Regions from separate parts of the Homo sapiens genome. Here region 2 is linked to region 1. Evidence: promoter capture Hi-C in human tissues and cell types (Jung and others, 2019). All regions are on one chromosome and are shown on one strand. Each heading gives the region's core, a stretch centred on a gene start or on the middle of the fragment in contact. The rest is flanking DNA. Distances are from core to core; before and after follow the strand shown.

Evidence for each region. Contacts are between HindIII fragments. The study calls those that stand out against the background at their distance.
Region 2: the fragment with the promoter of CDC42EP2 here is called in contact with the fragment with the promoter of SF1 in region 1 in 1 of the 25 tissues and cell types used here (lymphoblastoid cells).

The regions. Positions count from the first base shown.
Region 1 is chr11:64,777,125-64,783,874 of GRCh38, forward strand. It overlaps SF1 (splicing factor 1), which reads right to left and starts at 1,418. Exons shown (of 13, transcript NM_004630.4): 1 at 1,238-1,418. The coding sequence starts at 1,268. RefSeq lists silencers at 563-872, 1,133-1,532 and enhancers at 1,195-1,796, 1,773-1,882. The HindIII fragment of the contact is 16,194 bases long and covers 1-6,750 here.
Region 2 is chr11:65,313,475-65,320,339 of GRCh38, forward strand. CDC42EP2 (CDC42 effector protein 2) reads left to right here and starts at 1,392. Exons shown (of 2, transcript NM_006779.4): 1 at 1,392-1,480. It overlaps LOC105369344 (a long non-coding RNA gene), which reads right to left and starts at 1,215. Exons shown (of 3, transcript XR_007062727.1): 1 at 297-1,215. RefSeq lists silencers at 1,050-1,429, 1,890-2,019, 2,190-2,349, 5,634-5,857. The HindIII fragment of the contact is 18,736 bases long and covers 1-6,865 here.

The DNA.
Region 1 (6,750 bases), core at 168-2,667:
TTCTTCAACAAGATCACCTTTGTCTTCATAAGTTTAGCCAAGATCAGCATTCAGTTTTCCTGGCCAGTTGGACACTGAGGGTCTGAACTCTTAAAAGGATCTATCAAAAATTCAACAACCTATACAATAGCAGCCAAGTTCTCCTTTCCCCGTACATAGGCAGAAACTCCCTACATTTGCCACAAAAGAGTCCTTCTATTTCCCAAGGGGTACAGGATCAGAGGGAAAAGCTTTTTAAAACAAAGCGACAGGGCAGCCGATCAGACTGAGATCTAAACATACTGAACAGATTTAAAAAAAAAAACAAACTAAAATTCTCTCCCCAAAAGAGACCAAGAAAGATCAGACCCAACCATCATCTGAAGCATGCCAACCTCTCCCGGATGAAAACCCTGCCTTGCTGTAGAAGCAGAGGAGCTATCCTTGGTACGGTTCCCATTCTGGTTCCTCAAGACCAGAAGGGAGTCGCTGCACGTCATCAGGTGAGGCTTTCACGCCCTGCTGGCATTCACAGCTAGCACCCCGTCCAGCGCTGAACACCCGCCACCCCTGTTCCCGACACCAGCGGACTGGACAGCAATAGTGGGCCCCCAGTCTATACAGTTGCGCCGCACAGCCCGGCCACCTCACTGCGTCTGCGCACAGAGCGCCTCCCGCCCGCCCAGCCCTCCCCCCACAGCGCGCGTGCGCACTCGAGGCCCTAGAACCAGGCCGCGCGCGCCCAGGGGCGCCTCCGCCCGGGCCTCCCCGTGCGCGCACGCGCGCCCCTGCCGCGTGCAGCCGCCGTCGCCGCCGCCGCGCGCCCCTCAGGCGGCCGGGCCCGTCCGCGCGACGCCTCTCGCGCTCTCTCGGCCCGACTCACCTCCTCCGCCGCCGGCCGGGCCCGGCTGCTGGTCCTTACGCGGCGGCTGGGGTGGCGGCGGCTGCGGCGGCGACACGCGCTGGTAGAGCGGCGGCGGAGGGGGCGGCTGCGGCGGCGGGTACGAGGCGCCGGGGGACGGTGGCGGTGGAGGCGGCGGCGGCTGCTGGGGAGGCGGAGGGGGCGGCGGCGGAGGCGGCGGAGGCAGCGCCGCGAAGGGGAAGGCCGCGGTCAGGGCCCCCATCGAGCCCACGGGCGGGGGCGGCGGCGGCCCGGGAGCCAGCAGCCCCGCCCCAGGCCCGGGTGCAGGCGGAGGGCCCGGCTCGAAGCCTCCTTTGGGCCCGGGGAGCGGGGGCAGCCCGGGGGGGCCCAGCTTACCCAACGGCGTGGCGTTCGCTCCGGTCGCCATGGCGCCCCCGGGGACAGGCACCGGCACCTGCTTTTCCTCTGCGGCGGCTTCTCCTTCGCAAGCCTCCCGGGGGGAGGGGACCCGAATGCGCTGCCGGAGCGCGCGGAGCCCGTCCTCTCACGCGGCGGGCGGCGGCGGCGCGAGACGCACAAAGAGGGAGGAGAGAGGGCACCGCGGGGGCGGGCCGGGGGCGGCGGGGCCGGGGCCTGGATTGGGCCGGGCCGAGGCGAAGGGTCGAAATCGGCGGCCTCCGATTGGCGGAGCCTCAGTCCTTCTTGATGCGCGCTGGGATTGGCCGAACCGTTAGGCCAAGCGAGGAAATGGCGGCGGAGTTCGGTGGGCTGGGAGGTGTCGCAGCGCGCACTTCATTTGTTACTGCGTGAACTGAGCTCCGAGTCCAGAAAGGAGGGGATGGGGTGGGGCGAACTCTATGACGGAGCGACGGCGAGCTCTCTCATTGGCTGCGGTGGTGGACTCAATCAATCTCGCCTGCGTTGTAGTGTCGCGGGATTGGCTGTCGCTGGTTCCAGCCTTTTTCTACTCCCCTCCCCCAGGGGGCAGTTTCTCCGGGATTAAGCGAGAGTCGCGGCGGAAAAGGCCCAGCCGGAACGAGATTTACGGCGGGGGAGTCCTGGAGCAGGAAGTGCGCATGCGTAGATGGAGCAAAACCGCCTCTCCACCCGTCTCCCTTCACCATCGACCCTTGGGTCCAGCAAGGAAGCCCTAAGTGACGTCAACCTTTGTTCCCATGGTAACGCAGAACCTTGGGGCGGGAGCAGGGGAGGGGCTGGCGCGCGCCGGAAAACCGGCTCAGTTGACGCTGCAGGTAAAAAGACTTCCTGTTTTTTTGGAAAAAAAAAAAAAAAAAAAAAGTGACCCAAAAAGCTACGAATAGAGACGACTTATCGAAGGATTTAAAACAGTATTTGAACTGATGCAACAACATATTAGATGAAAGGTAACAGAAGGTTGTCAGTTCAAAAATTACAAATACACACTTCTATTGGAATCTCCACGGAGTTCAGAGGATTTAATTAAATGATCTTAAAATCGTATAAAACAATAACTACGGCCGGGCGCGGTGGCTCACGCCTGTAATCCCAGCACTTTGACAGGCCGAGGCGGGCGAATCACAAGGTCAGAAGGTCGAGACCAGCCTGACCAACATGGCGAAACCCCGTCTCTACGAAAAATACAAAAATTAGTTGGGTGTAGTGGTGCACTCCTGCAATCCCAGCTTCCCAGGAGGATGAGGCAAGAGAATCGCTTGAACCCGGGAGGCGGAGGTTGCAGTGAGCCGAGATGGGGCCACTGCACTTCAGCCTGGGTGACAGAGCGAGACTGTCAAAAATAAAAATAAAAATAACTACTACAGTACTGGGAAAACTTTACAAGACGGAGCAGGAGCTTGCCTTTCCAGATGACAAACATAGTATATAAAACACAATAGGCCAGTGCCAAGGCACTGGGAGGCCAAGGCGGGGGGATCACCTGAGGTCAGGAGTTCGAGACCAACCTGACCAACACGGTGAAACCCCCGTCTCTACTAAAAGTACAAAAATTAGCCGAGCGTGGTGGCAGACGCCTATAATCCCAGCTTCTCAGGAGGCTGAGGCAGGAGAATTGCTTGAACCCAGGAGGCGGAGGTGTAGTGAGCTGAGATCGCACCACTGTACTCCAGCCTGGGCAACAGCATGAGACTCCGTCTCAAAAACAAAAAACCACAATAATAAAACAATATGATATTGTTGGTAGGAAAGACACATTAGTGCAACAGAATCCGGAAATACCACAAATGTAGTATTTTATTTCAATCAGGAAAAGATGATTTCGTTGATAAATGGCGTAGAATCTTAAATTTAAACAACAAAACATTTAGAATATAATTTAGGAGACTATAAGGGTATTCTAGGGGTTGAGAGACTGCAAAGACAGGAACCTCAAACTGTAAAAAGATATACTTGATTACCCCGAAAATTAACACTGATAAAAGTCAAGAGACAATGATAGATGAGGAAAAAATATTTGCCATACATGATAAAGAGCCAATACCTGTAATATACAAATACATCTTAAAAACTAATTAGAAAAAAGGCAAAAACAATAGAAAATGAGCAAAAAATAGGAATGGACATGTCTCAGAAGAACAAATCCAAATAGCCAAGAAATATGAAAGGGTGCACAACCCCTCTGCTGTGGTTTTTTAAAATAAATAGAAAAGATGTTGGAACCCCCACAACACTTGAAACCTGGAGAGAGAGGTGACTGTGATCTCAGCCATGTATGGTTATAATTTTTTCTGAGATAATAAATTAGACCTGCTTGTTTTTCTTGTTCTGTACAATTATTGGAGAGAATTAAACATGGGACAAAAACCTGCTGCCTTCTTAATGACCCTTCTTATAGATAACTTCCCTTTTGTTGTCCTGCTTTACTTAGACCAGATGACAGCAAACCCATGACTATTACACCCTCTGTAAAAAATGTTAAATGTATGCCTCCCAAAAAGAAACACTGCTTACAACCAAATTATTTATTATTATTATTTCAATTTGAGACAGAGTCTGGCTCTGTCGCCCAGGCTGGAGTGCAATGGCACAATCTCGGCTCACTGCACCCTCTGCCTCCCAGATTCAAGCGATTCTCCCACCTCAGCCTCCTGAGTAGCCGGGATTACAGCCACCTGCCATCATGCCCAGCTAATTGTTACATTTTTGTAAAGATGGAATTTCACCATGTTGGCCAGGCTGGTCTTGAACTCCTGACCTCAGGTGATCTGCCCGCCTCGGCCTCCCAAAGTGCTGGGATTACAGGAGTGGACCACTGCACTCGGCCTATAACCAAATTACTGTAAGTACGCACTGACCATATATGAAGAATGTAATCCTAAAACTCCTCTGCCTTTGTGTGTGTAAATGAAACCTTAACTTCTCTACTTCGAAACACTGACTCCATTCATTTGGAGTCGGTGTTTCCAGGTAGTCCACCCTCATGTTTTGTGCTTGAATAAACTATTGAAATTAGATTCTGACCCTTTTGATTACTTTAGGTGGACAGGTTTGAATGTGTCCCCCAAAGCTCATGTGTTAGAAACTTAATCTCCATCCAGGCGCGGTGGCTCCAACACTTTGGGAGGCCGAGGTGGGTGGATCACCTGAGGTCAGGAGTTCGAGACCAGCCTGGCCAACATGAATCTCCTGCCTCAGCCTCCCAAGTAGTTGGGATTACAGGTGCCGCCACTATGCCTGGCTAATTTTTTGTATTTTTAATAGAGACAGGGTTTCACCATGTTGGCCAGGCTGGTCTCGAACTCCTTACCTCAGGTGATCCACCCACCTTGGCCTCCCAAACTGCTGGGATTATAGGCGTGAGCCACCGTGCCCAGCCAGAAATCTCTATTCTTTATAAATTACCCAGACTGGGTGTGGTGGCTAATGCCTGTAATCCCAGCACTTTGAGAGTCTGAGGTGGGAGGATCTCTTGAGCTCAGAAGTTTGTGACCAGCCTGGGCAACATCTACTAAAAAAATAAAAAATAAAAAAAAAATGCTGGTCATGGTGGTCCATGTCTATAGTCCCAGCTACACAAGAGGCTGAAGCAGGAGGATTACTTGAGCCCAGGAGATCAAGGCTGCAATGAGCTATGATCACGCCACTGCAATCCAGCCTGAGCAACAGAGCAAGACCCTGTCTCAAATAAATAAATTACCCAGTCTCAGGGATTCTGTTATAGCAGTACCACCTTAGACTGTGCTGAGTTTGTGCGACTGAGACTAGCTAATTTATTTACCAGTATTTAGACACTGCCTATAAGGGAAATACAAATTAAGGTGATAATGAGGAATCTCAAAATAAATGAAAATAGCAGAACATAAATGTGCTAACACCTACTATCGTTAATCTTTTAGAAAGCATTCTGTTGTCTATTAAAATTGTTCCCCCTTTCAAAAAATAAAAAAATATGCACCTGTACTCACAGCTACTTGTGAAGCTGAGGTGGGAGGATCCCTTGAGCCCAGGAGGTAAAGGCAGAAGTGAGCTGTGATTGGGCGACAGAGTGAGACTCTGTCTCAAAAGAAAGAAAACATAAACCCTTTCGATCCAATATCCCACTCCTGGGAATCTGCCCCCAAACAAGCCATGTGATTATATAATGTTTTCAAAGTCTTCTGCATTTACTGCAGCATTGTTTGTAGTGGTAAAAATGGGCAAACAGAGTGAATTTCCATCAATATATGAACGACTGAATTGGAAAACCCATAACCTAGAATATTAGGCAGCTTTGAAAAGCTGTTAATTCATACCAACCAACCTAAAGTAACTACTGTTCTGTGTTAACAAAGAAATACATATGACATGGCTTTGTTTTTGTAACACAAACCCCATACAGATGTGTGCATGTTTGCATATGATTATCTGAGCATAACAAAGGCTACAGAAGGATACACAGCACATGCTCTATTGCAGAGTGAAATGGGCGGCTGGAAGTTGCCCAACACATCTTAAACATCCAACTTTTTTTTTTTTTTTTCTTATGAGATGGAGTCTTGCTCTGTCACCCAGACCAGAGTGCAGTGGCATGATCTTGGCTCACTGCAACCTCCTCCTCCTGGGTTCAAGCGATTCTCGTGACTCAGCCTCCAGAGTAGCTCGGATTACAGGCATGCGCCACCATGCTTGGCTAATTTTTGTATTTTTAGTAGAGACGGGGTTTCACCATGTTGGCCAGGCTGGTCTCAAACTCCTGATCTCAAGTGATTCGCCCGCCTCAGCCTCCCAAAGTGCTGGGATTACAGGCGTGAGCCACCAAACCCAGCCTAAAAATCCAAAGTTAAAAAAAAAATGCTTCATACGCTTAACAAATGTATTACATGATTCCATTTTTGCAACATTATATAACTATAGGCATTGAGAAATGCACCAAGGGCTGGGTGCAGTGGCTCACACTTGTAATCTCAGCACTTTGGGAAGGCAAGGCAGGAGGATTGCTTGAGGCCAGGAGTTCGAAACCAGCCTGGGCAACATAGGGAGAATGTCTCTACAGAAACAAAAATAATAATAATCAGCTGAGCGTGATGTGTGCCTGTAGTTCCAGCTACTTGGGAGGCTGAGGCAGGAGGATTGTTTGACCCCAAAGAGTTTGAGGCTGCAATAAGCTGTGATCACACCACTGCACTGAAGCCTGAGTGACAGAGGGAGACCCTGTCTCAAAAAAAAAAAAAAAAAAAAAAAAAAAAGGCTGGGTGCGGTGGCTCACACCTGTAATCCCAGCACTTTGGGAGGCCGAGGCAGGCAGATCATGAGGTCAGGAGATTGAGACCATCCTGGCTAACACGGTGAAACCCCATCTCTACTAAAAATACAAAAAAAAAAATAGCTGAGTGTGGTGGCAGGTGCCTGTAGTCCCAGCTACTCAGGAGGCTGAGGCAGGAGAATGGCGTGAACCCGGGAGGCAGAGCTTGCAGTGAGCTGAGATCACGCCA
Region 2 (6,865 bases), core at 142-2,641, 540 kb after region 1:
CTGGCTAGATGTGAACATATTTAGGGGGGCTGTTATTTTACCTACCATGATCCCCTTCTTCCCATCCGGACCTCCCAGCTTGTCTGGCATCTTCCCCCACCCCCAGCATCCTGCCTCCCCCACTGAGGTCTTCCCGGCTCTGCCTCCCTAAAAGCCCTTCCCACACTGACAGCATTGAAGCCAACCATCCTGGTCACACTGAGCTGGCATAGCTGTCATCCTCTAGAAAGTGAGGTCTGTCCACCCCGTCACTACCCACCACTTCCTCTGCCCCACTCTTCTTAGCACTTACCCACCTGGAAGGGTATCATGATGTACCTGGGAACTTGGATTTCCCCCATTTCCCTTCTCTGGGCTGCAGGTCCCAATCCAGAGGCTGAATCCCCAGGGACAAGAACAGCGCTAGGCACTTGGTAGATACTCAACAAATCTCTCTTGAGTCACTGAGAGGTGCAGTTTCCTTCAGTCTGTCTCCAGCACCCTGTGCGGTGCCTGCCCTTCAAAACATGTTTCTGGGCCGGGCGCGGTGGCTCACGCCTGTAATTGCAGCACTTCGGGAGGCCGAGGCGGGCAGATCACTTGAGGTCGGGAATTCGAGACCAGCCTGGCCAACATGGAGAAACTCCGTCTCTACTAAGAATACAAAAATTAGCCAGGTGTGCTGGCACATGCCTGTAATCCCAGCTACTCGGGAGGCTGAGGCAGGAGAATCTCTTGAACCCAGGAGACGGAGGTTGCGGTGAGCAGTCTGGGCAACAAGAGCGAAACTCTGTCTCAAAAAAAAAAAAAGTTTCTGGCCCTGTAGGAATGACTGACTGACTGACTGAAAGAATGAATGGACCAGGAACTAGTCTGAATATGAGCCCCACCTTCACTCTGGAAGCCTGACAGCAAAGACGGGGGTCCAGGCCACGCGGCCTCTGCCTTCCCATACTGTCTTTTCTAGTGGGAGGTAAACTGATCAACTAGCTTGTAAGTTTGTAGTATTCTAACGTAGGCGCTTCCAAGGAAGTCGCTGAATATACTTGTGCCGGCGCTTCCCCGACGCAGCCCTGCAGGGAAGGATCCGGTCCAAGGTCTCTCTGCGATTTCTGAAGAATTCGGTCTTCCCGGAGCCTCTCCCCCGGCTCTTCTAGAACCGAAGGTTTTAGTTCCCATGGGCACAGCCGGAGGCCGCCTGCGCCACCCGGCCCTCAGCCGCCAGAACCAGGACAGGACTCCAGGGCGCGCGCGACCGCTGGACCCGGGAGCGGCACCTCCCACGCCGGGAGCCCCGGGCGGTGCCCGGAGTGGGGCGGGGCCTGGGCGGGGATGGGGAGGGGCTTGGCTGGCGCGGCCCCGGCATTGGCTCCGCGGGCCGGGGCGGGGCTGCGGGGTCCGCGGTGCACTCTGTAAGTTCACCGCCGGTCGGGTCCGGCCGCCGCGCTGTCCAGCTCCTGAGACCTTGCTGTCCGCCGGTCTGCCGTCTGCGCGCCTCACGGTGAGTTCGGGCTGGGATTTTCGCAGCTTCGCGGGGGTCCCCCGAGAGGCCCATCTCTGTGGCGCCCCGCCCCAGCTCGCGCCCTGGCTCTGCCTCTCACCTCACTCAGTTCCTTTCGAGGGCTCCTAGGGCTCCATGGGGCTTCCCACCCGCATCTGGGTTCCCGCAGCCTCGCCCGTGCCCGCCACGGTCCGTGGGGGCGCAACGCATCCCGACCCCGAATTCCCCGTTCTGCCCTCCATTTTGTGTCCGGGCCCCCGCCCCCCTCCCGAGACCCAGGGGTGCCCCGCCGCCCAGCATCCCCACCGGGGCTGGGGGCCGTATTTTTAGCCGATAGTGAGTTGTTCTCCTATCTTTAGCTGCGGCCGCGAATGTCCTGAAACGGATCCGGGCTGGGCTGGGCTCCGCCCGGGTAGGAGTGGGGAGGGGTCGGCGCAGGAACCCGAGCCGGAGCTAAGGAGCCGGACCCGTGGGAGGGGCGGGGGCCCGCACGCCCGAGCTCTGGCCCTGTGCCGAGCGGACACTAGGACATCGCCCAGGCCGGAAAGCACAGGGGGGAGGCTCCTCCCAGAGCTTGGAGACTAGGGCAGGGTCCCCAATCGCCCCCTTTTTCCCCGATTGTGGGACCAGAAACCCCGAAGCAAAAAGATCTCGCAGGTAATCCCCATCTGGTACTTGAACGCGCAGCTCCTTGGGGACCGCCTGCCTGGAGCCCGGGGGAGGGGCGCTGGAGACCCCGGTGCGCTCTCGGAGTCCTCCGGGACACGAGGCGATCAAGGGAGCACGCGCGCCACCTGGCGGCCGCGGAGCCGGGCACCTCTCCGGAGGCACCGGGACCCCGGGAGACCCAGCGGCCGCTAGAGGGTCTCTGCATCCTCGAGGTCTAGGAGGGCGGGAGGAGGTGGACGCCTGGGGTCAGGAGCCCTTCGTTTTTGCTATTGTTCAAAGCACTGGCCCCGGAGAATCGAAGTGCTTGAGGAAGGAAGGCCTTGTAGATATTTGCTGAATGAATGATAAAACCTACAGTGACCCGCTGAACCCCGCTATTGTACATTGGCGCTCTCACCTGCAATATTGCAGTGGGATCTCCAGTGGCCCTTTAGTGGTGGCTTCGTTGTCAGCCCATTTTATAGATGGGAAAGGTGAGACCCAGAGAGGAGAGGCGTCTTGCTGAAGGTTACTGAGGAAGTCCCAGGTGGAGCTGGATTTAAGGACAGTCTCCTGATTTAGGAGAAGAGGGGGTGTGAGGTGGCCTAATATTCTTCATGATAGGAGGATCCCTGCCTGCCGGAAGTCATTTTCTCATTGGGAGGTCCAGGGCTCCTGTCCAGGGCAATCACAGAGAGCTAGGATGCTCCTATCTGCTCCCCGACTGCTGCAGGGAGCTCCCCTCCCAGCTCCCCACAGCCCTGTCCTGATGGAGACCTCATTCTCATATCTCTGGACACATGAAAGTTGGGCAGACGGGGGCAGCCAAAGGTCAGGATGTAGATGGAGGAGATCTGGGGACCCACTGTTCCCAGCCTAGCTGTGAGCCCCTTTCTCTCCCGCTCCCCAAACATATTATGGAAGTAGGCGTGGCCCACTGCATGGGAACCACGTGGACCAGGCTGGGTACCCACTCTTCCACTTCCTAACTGGATGACGTCGCCAATGTTACTTAACATCTCTGAGGTTCAGCTTCGACTTCTGTAAAGGGCCGTAATGACCCCACCATGCCGTGACTGGGAGCTTTAAGATGAGAAACTGTGCGTGGCAAGCTGGATCCTAGGGTCTTGCAGTTGCCAAATCTAAATTCCTGGGGCGTGAGGGTTGTAATTCCCAGCTCTCCCCTGGGCCGCTGATGCTGGCCTCACCCTCGATTCTCCCCACATCTGGAATTGGGTGTGTACATCTGGCTGTGAGTGAGACAGCTGTCAGGGACGCCCAATTTGTTGTGGAAACACTCAGGCTGTCTTGGCGCTGCCGTGTGATGGGGTTGGGGGTGCGGGGAGGACCTGGCCCAGGCTCTGGGTACATCCCACCAGTCAGCCCCACGCTCCATGAGTGAAAAGGAAGACAAGCCCCCCCCAGGACTTCTCTCCTGACGAGCGACAAATTGCATGTTTGTCAGCATGGCCCCCAGGCCTGGCATGGTTGACACAGGATGAATGCGTGACGGGATTCCAAGACCTCAGGGTGCCCATGCGTCCCCACCCTTCCCCCAGCTCCTTGCAAGCTGAGCTGGATTTCCGCCACGGGAGAGTCATTCCTTTGTTTCCTGTTAAGCTCCAGGTGCTCTGGGAGGGGTAAGATGTCCGGCCTCTGTGGCTCAGTACGACTGACCCGGGTGTCCGGTCCTGGGGTGGGGTTTCCTGAGCAAGGGCCTCAGCTGGTGGGGGGAGGGGGGCAGTTGGACTCTGCTTCTCCTGCATCCTCCTTCCTCCTTCCTGCTCCCGCCTCCCAACCCCCTCACCCCCACCCTCACCCTGCCCAGAATGAAAACTGAGGCAAAGAACTGGCAAGAGCCACCTTTGGTGAGCCCCTGGCTGGGCCTGGGGAGGGAGTGGTACAGGAGGGTGGGCTCATCTGGCTTGAATTCCCATGCTGCCCTTACTCACTGGGTGACCTTGGACAAGTTTCTCTCTTTGCCTTTTATGCTGAGTCTACATCTGGGCTCATGTGTACTGGACCAATCAGGTCCCATGTGCGTCCCCCACCCTCAAGCAGAGGGAGTGCTTGCTTCATTTCTTTTTTCTGTTAAATCAGTATGACACCCCTTCATAGCTATTTATTTTTACACATTAAAAATAGCTTAATTTTTTTCTGACTACATAAATATGTGCATATAAATAATACATTGCTTATTAGTAAGAATTTGAATTCATAGAGGTCTGAACAAGAAAGGAAACATCAACCTGAAATTCTACCACTTTGAGAAAACCACTGTTCCATCTTTTCATATTTATATATATTACACACATTTATCATGTCATAGTCATGGGACCAAAATATTATAGGTTATTTTTATTGATGACTCCTTTCCTCCCATATCAGTGACCCCACCCCCCATCCCTGCTGTGTACCCTAGTCAAGGTAGCCCATATGACAACCTAGGGCTGGCCTTCTAGATTTTTCTCTGTGTTTTAAATTTTTTTTTTAATTTTTTTTATTTTTTTTGAGGCGGAGTCTCACTCTGTCACCCAGGCTGGAGTGCAGTGGCACGATCTAGGCCCACTGCAACCTCTGCCTCCTGGGTTCAAGCAATTCTTCTGCCTCAGCCTCCTGAGTAGTTGGTATTACAGACTTGTGCCACCACACCTGGCAAATTTTTTTTTTGAGACGGAGACTCTCTCTGTTGCCCAGGCTGGAGTGCAGTGGCGCGATCTAGGCCCACTGCAGCCTCTGCCTCCCGGGTTTAAGTAATTCTTCTGCCTCAGCCTCCCGAGTAGCTGGTATTACAGACCTGCGCCACCACACCTGGCAAATTTTTTTTTTTTTTTTTTTTGAGATGGAGACACTCTCTGTCCCCCAGGCTGGAGTGCAGTGGTGCGATCTCAGCTCACTGCAAGCTCTGCCTCCCGGGTTCACGCCATTCTCCTGCCTCAGCCTTCCGAGTAGCTGGGACTACAGGCGCCAGCCACCATGCCCGGCTAATTTTTTGTATTTTTAGTAGAGACGGGGTTTCACCGTGTTAGCCAGGATGGTCTCGATCTCCTGACCTCATGATCCGCCCGCCTCGGCCTCCTAAAGTGCTGGGATTACAGGCGTGAACCACCGCGCCCGGCCTAACACCTGGCTAATTTTTGTATATTTAGTAGAGATGGGGTCTCCACATGTTGGCCAGGCTGGTCTCGAACTCCTGATCTCAGGTGATCCGCCCACCTCGGCCTCCCAAAGTGCTGGGATTACAGAAGTGAGCCACTGCACCTGACTTTTTTTTTTTTTTTTTTTTTTTTTTTTTTTTTTTTTTTGTATAGGACAGAATTCTACACAGACCTGTACCCATGCAGTTACACAACATGCATATGTGTCAGAGCAGGGAGGCAGGTAGGTAGTCAATGCTTTCAATAAATGGATGATCTATATTATGTTTTTGCATTTTGCTTCTCTCTCTCTGCAATGCCCTGTGGGAATCCTCCAAAATTTTTCACCTGTAGGTTCACCTCAGGTTCAATTTTGAATTTTGACACCTCTGATTTTTTTTTTTTTTTTGATGGAGTCTTCCTCTGTAGCTGAAGCTGGAGTGCCGTGGGGCGATCTCGGCCCACTGTAACCTCCACCTCCGGGGTTCAAGCGATTCTCCTGCCTCAGCCTCCCAAATAGCTGGGACCACAGGCATGAACCACCACGCCTGGCTAATTTTTTGTACTTTTAGTAGAGACAGGGTTTCACCATGTTAGCTAGGATGGTCTTGATCTCCTGACCTCGTGATCCACCTGCCTCAGCCTCCCAAAGTGCTGCGATTACAGGTGTGAGCCACTGCACCCAGCCCCAACACCTCTGATTTTTAAATAGGGTTGATAATAGGGTGGTTGTGTTGATTAATTGAGATGTGTCTGCAAAGAGCGCAGAAGAATTTCAGGTACAGAGCAGAGGCCCCCTCAACTAAAAAATATATGTACTCCCCACTCCACCTTCTCTTTAGATGCCAGGGTAGGGAGGAAGGCCAGAAAGTATCCTAGACTCAGCCCCTACCCATAAGGAACTCTTAATAGGCAGAGGAGAAAACACGACCCCACCTCCAGGTGGGACATGATTGGGTCAAATGGGAAGTGCCAGCCACCCAGCACCCTTGGCCAAACATCTGCTGTGCTCCAGGTCCCCGCCAGGCTTGGGCGGGAGAGACAGTGGTCACAAAGCTCTCTGTCCTTGGTCAAGTAGGGAGTCAAGGCCATTTGTGAGGCCCCCCACAATCTGGCACTTACATTGTGGGGCACAGGTGATGTGCAATGGAGGTGGGGGGTATGGTATGAGTACCTGGATAAGGGTGATGAGACCTACTTTGCCGGGGACCCAGGGCAAGAGAATAGAGCAGGACTTTCTGTGTGACTTTGGACCTGTCATTCAGGTTCCCACCTCAGTTTCCCACCTGTAAGGGGAGGAGCTTGGCCCTGGTGGTGAGTCTATAAGATGCAGTAGGTCTTAGAGTGAAGACATGCTTCTCCCAGTACAATTCCCTGCAAGGGGAGTGCCCCACCCCCTCAGGATCCCATGGCTACCACAAGAGGCCCAGAAACAAGATGTTTCTGGCCAGGCACGGTGGCTCACACCTGTGATCCCAGCATTTTGGGAGGCCGAGGCGGGCGGATCATTTGAGGTCAGGAGTTCAAGATCAGCCTGGCTAACATGGTGAAACCCTGTCTCTACTAAAAAAAAATGCAAAAATTAGCCAGGCATGGTGAC